2 separate regions of the Homo sapiens genome follow, and region 1 is linked to region 2. Evidence: promoter capture Hi-C in 16 types of primary human blood cells and fetal thymus (Javierre and others, 2016). All regions are on one chromosome and are shown on one strand. Each heading gives the region's core, a stretch centred on a gene start or on the middle of the fragment in contact. The rest is flanking DNA. Distances are from core to core; before and after follow the strand shown. Region 1 overlaps VEPH1 (ventricular zone expressed PH domain containing 1). Region 2 holds the start of PTX3 (pentraxin 3).

The links. The method cuts DNA at HindIII sites, captures the fragments that hold promoters and counts their contacts. A CHiCAGO score of 5 or more calls a contact.
Region 1: a fragment that was not itself captured here is called in contact with the fragment with the promoter of PTX3 in region 2 in 1 of 17 cell types (endothelial precursors); the score reaches 5.8 in endothelial precursors.

Annotation. Positions count from the first base shown.
Region 1 is chr3:157,262,866-157,267,694 of GRCh38, forward strand. It overlaps VEPH1 (ventricular zone expressed PH domain containing 1), which reads right to left. Exons shown (of 14, transcript NM_001167912.2): 13 at 2,661-2,797. The region is part of intron 3 of LOC101928236 (a long non-coding RNA gene); the gene reads left to right. Among named protein-coding and RNA genes, the nearest start is that of CCNL1, 110 kb to the left of the region's middle. The HindIII fragment of the contact is 742 bases long and covers 2,451-3,192 here.
Region 2 is chr3:157,435,172-157,439,615 of GRCh38, forward strand. PTX3 (pentraxin 3) reads left to right here and starts at 1,679. Exons shown (of 3, transcript NM_002852.4): 1 at 1,679-1,892; 2 at 2,342-2,743. The coding sequence starts at 1,763. All of the region lies in intron 4 of VEPH1 (ventricular zone expressed PH domain containing 1), which reads right to left. The HindIII fragment of the contact is 2,433 bases long and covers 403-2,835 here.

The DNA of each region.
Region 1 (4,829 bases), core at 1,572-4,071, 170 kb before region 2:
TGGTTTACAGTAAGTATCTGACAGTAATAAAATTGCATTTCTTTGAAGTAGTCTATAGTACAGAGATTGATACGAAAATAAAAAGTTACCATAGTAATTTAAAGATGGACAGTGAATCAACTGAGACAGGAATAGATAGAAAGTCAAAGGACACTATTGCCTAGCTAGTTTGTGGAGATCAAGGTCTTAAAAATGCAAAAGTGAAAGATTAGAGTCTTCCACTAGAGTCTTTCAACCTCAGCTCTAATTTTAAAATGCACATTTCTTTCATTTAAAAGGGGCCCTTTTACAAGGACCTGAAGCTTCAGCAGGATTGTTGACCACTGGTAGGTTATTGTTTCCCTGGAGATTAGAGGTATTTTGCTGTGGCCTTCATGCTATATTAAATTATTTCCCACTATTTGAGCCGCAAGTTTTGTCAGAGTTATGGAATGTCAGACCATTATTTCCTGATAAACATGTCAAACAAGTTACCTAATTATAAAATTGCTTTTTCTTTAAACCTTATTAAAAAAGCCATGAATCAGAAAGTATAAAGGTCATTATTTGAGTTCAGAAAAACATTCTCATAGATTAACTCTGCTTTGTCTTAAGGGATCTGGAAAATTACTACGTCTTCATTTCTATTCTTGATTTCTTGAATAAAAACAGAAAATTCAGGTAGTCATTTTAAACACTTTAAACATGCTTTAGTGTGAACCTATGCTAAAAAAATTTCTTTAAGTTTCCAATAGCTGTCTAAATTGAACTGCCCTTTCAAAAAGATGTTCAGCTACAGAAAAGTCCATCTGTATATGTTATAACACACACAGATGAAGAAAGTAGCATGACTACACAGTAGGTATCACAAAAAATATTCTTTTTCATTCAAAAAGTTAACAGAAGTCTTATTAATTAAAAGAGCACTGGTCAGAATACACGATACTTGATTCATACTGATTAAAATGTTCAAATACATTTTATAATGAGTACTCTAAAGATATAGTGCATATGGCCGAGAATGAATTATAATTTTTAACTAATTTACCACTTTTCATTAATTAATTCAGACAGTTTGGTTTATGTGATGGTTAATTTATGTGTCAACTTGACTGGGCTAATGGGTACCCAGACAGCTGGGAAAGCATTATTTCCGCATGTGTCTGTGAGGTGTTTCTGGAAGAGGCTGGCATTTGAATTAGTGGACTGAGTGAAGAAGATCCATGCTCCCCATTGTGGGTGGGCATCATGCAATCTATTGGGGACCTGGATAGAATAACAAGTTGGAGGAAAGATAAATTTGCTTTTTCTTCTTGCACTGAGACATGCATTCTCTCCTGCCTGTGGATATCAGAGCTCCTGGTTTTGGGGCCTTCAGACTCTGGGACTTACATCCCTCCCCCCAGCTCACTGCCATACCCAGGTTCTCAGGCCTTTGGCCTTGGACTGGGAGTTATATCATTGACTCCCTTAATTTTCTGGCCTTAGGACACAGACTGAATTACACCACCAGTTTTCCTGGTTCTCCAGCTTGCACACAGCATATCATGGAACTTCACACCCTCCATAATTTCATGAGCCAATTCCCATAGTAAATCTCGTATATGTCTTTATATATCCTATTGGTTCCATTTCTATGGAGATCCCTGGTGAGTACAGTTTACCACTGACTCTGTATTTTAAGTATACATGGGAAGCAGTAAACTCATTTAAGAACATGCTTTGGTGTAACACTGCCTGATCTTGACCCCAGTTATACCCTTTCTCACCTTATTAGCTTTATCCTTGGACAATCCAATCAGTTTCTTTGACTCAGTTTCCTCATCTGTGAAATGGCAATAATAGCAGTGGTGGCCTAATAGGATTGTTTTGAGGATTGTTTGAGGCAATCCAAGGTGTTGCATAGTAGGCACTGAAAAAATGCTAGTCATTATGATTATTTTCTAAAATAGCCAAGAAGTAGGTCAAGATTTGATTCCTCTTGATCCTGAATCAGGAGAGTTTAATGATACATAAAACCAATTTGAAAAGAAGAGAAGGTAACTTTGCATTATTGATTGCAATGGAATGCTACTTCAGAGGTTTCCCACTGAAAATTCACAATACAAATAATTACTGAACATCCTATTCAAATGGAAAATTATATTAAATATTTATTAATTTGATCATAATTCTATTATATTCATTAACTGAATATTAAATAGATGAAAGACAGTAATATTTTAATCAGAATTAAACTTTGTTGACTATAAAAAGTACCTAAAGTAAATCAGCCTTCATTCTTTCCTCCTTGTCTATGTCCTCCTTTTTTGGACCCCCATTTCCAAATATAAACTATAGCTATAAAAAAATCAGAGCCAATATCATAAGTCATAAATTTGTGTACGTGGTCCACAAGGAAACAAAGGGCACGGTGTCTGAGTCAAGACTTGCAGTCCCTCTGCAGTTCAACTAAAAAGTCAACTAAAACAAGCTTCCATAATAAACTGGAAGGGGACAGTGAATCAACTAACATAGGAATAAACAGACTAGACACAGAAATGTGTGATAAAACAATGCTGTAAGATGGTGAAATGGAGATGGAAAAATTATTAGAGTTTAAACCCAAGACAAAACGTTTAGCTATTGGTGGAGATCAAAACCTTAAAAATGCAAGTGTAAAAGATGATGGAGGAACTTACAGACTTTCCTTTTTGAAACAGAAGTTGATTTCCAGCCAGTGTAAAATAGCGTGTTTTCCACCTTTTGATGAACTTCCATCTGACTTGCTTCTCTTTAAGTTTTCCTTCTATGAGAGGCTGGCCATCTTGATTTACAACTGTTGAAGGTAGCAGAATAATCATGCCATGTATTTTCCAATATTTACTAGGTAGGTGATCAAAAGTCAGAACTGTACAGTGTACCAGAACCCAGTTAGCACACCTGGAAAGTAGGCTAATAAATGATGAATTTGGTTAACCTTTCCTCCTTTGTCCCTAAAAGAATGCACAATTCAGATATGACAATGGAAAACTGTTGAAAGCCCTCATTGCCATTTTCAAAAGAAATTGGTTCACACAAAGAGCATCTGTTAGCAGTATTTAAAGTTTATCTGGATATTTAGCTTTCTGTGCTTGGTTTCTTTGTTTCATAGTGTTCTGTTTCTAATGTTGGAATAACCAAATTAATTTGGAACAGTTTGAAATGTTGGCACAAAGTATCTAGTATGCCATAAGCTTCATTTTGATTTTGCCAGTAACTAGGTAATAAAAAACAAATTTCCATGCTTTATGACACATGAACTGCTGGAAATATAGCTTTATAAATAATCATAAACCCAAGTATATTTAGCTATTTGGCAGCAAAAGTCAATGCAGCACTCCAAAAGACATGGTTCCTAAAGCGGTAACACCAAGCAGCAAAGGCAAACTTACCCAACTCTTGTACATGCTAGTCTCACTCTCTGGAACACATGTACTCTCTTTCCCCTCTCTGTATTCCCATCTTCACCTAGTCAACAACTGATCACTTCACATTTCAACTTAAATGTTGCTTCCTTTGGAAAGCCCTCTCCAAATCCAGATGAGGGTGGCTTTCCCCCATATGTTCTCATGGCACATGGCATGTTTCTTATATATCAGGGATTATCATTTGTAGATAGATATTAGTGCTTATCTGATTAATATCTTTCTGTCTCATTCAGTTGAAAGCTCCACAAGGGCAGGGTCTTTGCTTTGTTCTCTGTTGAATCACCAAGCATCTAACATGGTGCCTGGCAAATAGTAGGAAGTCTATAAATATTTGTTGACTGAATGGACTAATTTTACATTGAAGCAGAGTGTGCATGATTACAAATGATCATAGAATTAGAAGATCCATTGCAATGTCAGAGTTTAGACGCTGAACTGAATAATTTTATTCCTTTTACCAACAACATAAGATTCACTCTTCAAATTCAGATGAAAGCATCTGATTTCAGCAGAAGGGGACAATGGAAAGCTCCATCTGTAGTAGGACAATGTTTATTTATATATATTTATCTTCAATTTTCATAGCACCTTGAAAGTAATAAAATTTGTTCCATCAGTTTGGAAAAATTCTGGACTGTGCCTGTTTGACCCTATGAACACAACCTGCCTTTTGTACACTACCATTTCTTTTTTCTAATATAGGTCTAATAATTGCCTCACAGGATTGTCCACTTTCACAGAGCATTTTCAGGATAAAAATAATAAAATGTATAGTTTTCTTTTCTTTTCTTTTCTTTTTCTTTTTTTTCTTTTTTTTTTTTTTTTGACAGTTTACTCTGTCACCGAGGCTGGAGTGCAGTGGCACGATCTCAGCTCATTGCAACCTCCACCTCTCGGGCTCAAGTGATTCCCCTGCCTCAGTCTCCCGAGTAGCTGAGACTACAGGTATTCGCCACCACGCTCGGCTAAATTTTTGTATTTTTAGTAGAGACAGGGTTTTGCCATGTTGGCCAGGCTGGTCTCAAACTCCTGGCCTCAGGTGATCCATCCACCCTGGCGTCCCAAAGTGCTGGGATTACAGGTGTGAGCCACCATGCCCAGCCGAAATGTAGAGTTTTCATAAACAAAGTACTATTAAGGCTATTTTTTTTTCCGGATGACTATTCAATTGGCTGTTCCATTGTCAACTCCAAATTAAGGCTAAAAACTGGCCAGGCGCAGCAGCTCATGCCTGTAATCCCAGCACTTTGGGAGGCCGAGGTGGGTGGATCTCCTGAGGTCAGGAGTTTGAGACCAGCCTGGCCAACTTGGCGAAAGCCCATCTCTACCAAAAATACAAAAATTAGCTGGGTGTAATCCCAGCTATTTGGGAAGCTAGGCAGGAGAATTGCTTGGGCCTGG
Region 2 (4,444 bases), core at 429-2,928:
CTTCTTTTAGAGCTTCAGTAGTTTTAAACATATTTATTTTCTAGTTTTTTGGCTGATATTTCAACTAAATGCAGTTCTTGGGGAGAGGTGTCTAATCCTTTTTGGTTTCTGCTGATTCTCATTTATAGTGGTTTGCTTCCTCATATGTTCAAATATCATTGTGAATTCTTTTTTGTTTTCACAGTGGCAGATAGTATATATTTGAATTCTAAACATATCTGAGGGCAGGCCCAATTTCACAAACTCAAAGGGACCTTGTAGAGTTCAAAGAGAGACATGATTGCTTCCTACCTCTTTGTGCTAGGGCAGAGTGGGATTGTACCTACTGAAATACAGTAGGTAACCCTGTGAGGGTCCTGGCTTTCATGAGGATCTCCCTTCTAACTCTCCACCTTTGGCCTAAGCTTTGCTTCCACATGGTCATCAACATTTGGTGGTTATAGAACTAATAACCCCTATCTCACTTCACTCCTATGCCAGAGGGGCCCTAGCATCAGCTCATGGGATTGTTGTTTTTGCTTTCCTCTCTATCTTTGGCTCCGGGATTTTCCCCTTACTTTAATGGGAGCTCATCTGTACCTTTTAAGTTTTTATTAATATCATGTGAACACAGACCTGTATATATTGTTAGAAGCAGAAATCTCTAAGTTTACTTTTAAAACATGATCCTTGCCTCGAAACCTTGTAGAATAATATAATGTCCACATAATACCAAGTTATGAAAAGAAACATACCTAAATAACTAAATAAGTATATTCCTTTTTTCCCCCAGCTTTTTTTCCCCATTCTAGGTTTACCCAGTTGTACTGTGTTGTTTGTCATAGGCCGGGTGAGGTGGCTCACGTCTGTAATCCTAGCAATTTGGGAGGCGAAGGCGGGTGGATCGCCTGAGGTCAGGAGTTCGAGACCAGCCTGGCTAACATGGTGAAACCCTGTCTCTACTAAAAATACAAAAATTAACTGGGTGTGGTGGCGGGTGCCTGTAATTCCAGCTACTTGGGAAGCTGAGGTAGGAGAATCGCTTGAACCCAGGATGCGGAGGTTGCAGTGAGCCGAGATCACACCATTGCACTCCAGCCTGGGCAACAAGAGCGAAATTCAGTCTCAAAAAAAAAAATTATCTATAAAAGTATAGGTGCAACTCCTCAAGTATTAAAGACAAGATAGCTCGGATTGGACTTGACTTTCAGAGCCATAACTATTCTTAATATGTTGGTTTATCTTGGAATCAGACCATTTTCAGTTTCAACCTGTAAAACAGTGTACAAAGGAAACATGGAAAGTTTTCTATATATAAAGGGTTGTGAAATAATAACAGCTCACAGAAAATGCTGAAATGATGATTTGCTTCAGTACCCTCTGAAATTTCTCCCCTACCACCCCTCCTTCATCCCCATTGCTATCAATTCAAATTACAACAGCTAATTCTCAGGAGAACAGTAGAAGCCCAGTTTCTCTCCTCTTTCCCCTCTGACCCTCCTCCAATTAATCTGACTGCAGCGTAAACCTTTGCGGTTTAATATTGTGCAACTTCCACATTTCCCTCGCTCTCCCACCCAGCCCCCTCCCCCACCAAATTCAGGGGAACTCCCGTTACCGCAGTGCCACCAGCATTACTCATTCATCCCCATTCAGGCTTTCCTCAGCATTTATTAAGGACTCTCTGCTCCAGCCTCTCACTCTCACTCTCCTCCGCTCAAACTCAGCTCACTTGAGAGTCTCCTCCCGCCAGCTGTGGAAAGAACTTTGCGTCTCTCCAGCAATGCATCTCCTTGCGATTCTGTTTTGTGCTCTCTGGTCTGCAGTGTTGGCCGAGAACTCGGATGATTATGATCTCATGTATGTGAATTTGGACAACGAAATAGACAATGGACTCCATCCCACTGAGGACCGTAAGTTCACTTTAACTGTTTCTCTGCTAACCCTGACTACATATCCACCTCTTGGTCTAAATAACACACATATACTTTGTGGCCAGTGAGACAAGTTAAAAATTTATAGCTTGTTATGCAAAAGTGAGAAGCACTTGAAGAAAGATGGAGGTTTCAAAGTTATTTCTGTAACGTACATAATGGGTTGAATCATATCAAATCGTCAATATTTGACTGTTTTGAGCTACATAACCGGCGATTTCATAGGGTACAACTTAATCTATACCTGAATGAATGATTTCTGTCGTTTCTGAGACATTTACATGCTGTTTTTCGGAGGTGTCCTTAAAGGGAAGGGGAATGCCAGGAACGGGCTGCAACTTGGCACCACCGAGGGAGGTCAGCTTTTACAAAGCACATCCAAGGCAGGCCTGGGCGGGCTGCTAACGTGTGTGTATCCCGTACTCTAGCCACGCCGTGCGCCTGCGGTCAGGAGCACTCGGAATGGGACAAGCTCTTCATCATGCTGGAGAACTCGCAGATGAGAGAGCGCATGCTGCTGCAAGCCACGGACGACGTCCTGCGGGGCGAGCTGCAGAGGCTGCGGGAGGAGCTGGGCCGGCTCGCGGAAAGCCTGGCGAGGCCGTGCGCGCCGGGGGCTCCCGCAGAGGCCAGGCTGACCAGTGCTCTGGACGAGCTGCTGCAGGCGACCCGCGACGCGGGCCGCAGGCTGGCGCGTATGGAGGGCGCGGAGGCGCAGCGCCCAGAGGAGGCGGGGCGCGCCCTGGCCGCGGTGCTAGAGGAGCTGCGGCAGACGCGAGCCGACCTGCACGCGGTGCAGGGCTGGGCTGCCCGGAGCTGGCTGCCGGCAGGTAAGGAGGCAAGCGGGGCCGGGACCTCCCACTGCGGCTTTGTTCCGGGAGCGCGCGTAACGGCAAGCCAAGCCAGGCAACCTTCTAGGGGAAGCTTTCATGGGAAGCGCGCGCGCGCGCGCGCACACACACACACACACACACACACACACACACACCCCTATTTCTGCATGCGCGGTCACAGAGCTCAGGCACACCATACAAGGCGGGAAAATTGGCTTTAAAAAAGTATTCCTCAGTCCTAAGGAGCCCTAAAGAGAGTTGTGGAGGTAACCATCACAGTCTTGAAATAGACGTCTAGGGCCCCTTACACCCGATCCGACTAAGCGCTGCAGGAGTCCACTGGCCCGTTATAACCGTGATCCCTCTTGCCGCCCAGCTTCCCTCCGTTAGGGATTTCCACGTCTTCTAATTTTATCCTGCCTCTGTCTTTAGAGGAGCTCTGGTTTCCCGCACTATTTCAGGGCCCAGGCTAACGTTTAGGGATGTTTTCCAGCCCCTCAGCCGGCCCCTCCTCTCCGCCCACCCATTCTCAGCAAGAAACTTGAGGCTAAAGCTAATCTCCCGAAGGGTCAGCGGAATTCTTCAGGGGTCCCCCAGCCCCCGGGGTTTGTGGAATTAGCGCGACAGGGGAGGTCGGAGGGTGTGCGGTTTGGGATTCAGCGTGGAACAGTCAGGTGTAGGAGCCAATCCGTGTAGGGGATCCCAGCTCCACCCCAGGGATTCAGAGAATTGGGGCCAAGCAGGAGAGAGACTGTTCAAACCACAGGCAACTTCTCAAAGTCCCATGTGACACTCCATGAATCTCCAAACAGACATGGGTTCCCAAAATAATACATTCTAAAGATGGTTAAAAGAAAGAAATAGAAGATTTGGAGCCAATCAATACTCCTTTGTATGCCAAAACTTCTAAGAAATGGTGGTGTGACAATCATTTTGGATTGTATTAGAAAATCAGTGTCCTAGGTAAGAAAATATAACTTGCACTTTTCCTGAGAATCCTTCCCTGTATTTCCAAGAAAACAACTTTTGCTGGATGGGGAGGGGGAAGAAGCATGTTTCATTTAAAGTTAAAGAATTTTATGTAATGAGAGCATGTTTCATTTAAAGTTACAGAAACCATATCATATTTCCTAAATATTTGAGGGGTGCTTGTCAGTAAATACTAAATAGGGCTTCAGAGGAGAAAAAGCATAAAATCAAATGTACACTAGATTCTCAATGTGACAGGAGAGAAATTAGAATTCTGCAGCCATTTTAATGGATGAAATGTCTTGTGTTTCGCAAACCACGTAAAGTCATTGTACATATAATGCACCTGAAAAACCGAAGAATTACTCTATTTTTTATCTTCATCTTTGCATATTAGTTAGAGCAGAAGAGGGATGCATTTCTGAATTCTAAGATGTTAATCCTTATTACATCCAATAATACTTTTACCCATATGCTTTGATTTATCTTCTCTTGGTCTCCAGCCAGCTTGGCTCCTAACCATTCTGTTGTTAGCCTCCTAAGAACCTGGTTTTAATTTTGTTTGGTCTTTGATAATCAGAAAAACCTATTAGTTAAAAGCCATTTCATAAGAGAGTTTCTGACATTTTAAAGAGGTATTAAGAGCCTCGTTTTTGGGTATCCCTGGTCCCCAAAAGAGGATCACCAAAAATAGCCAACATGCGGTTCCAGTCCATGAACTTATATAGC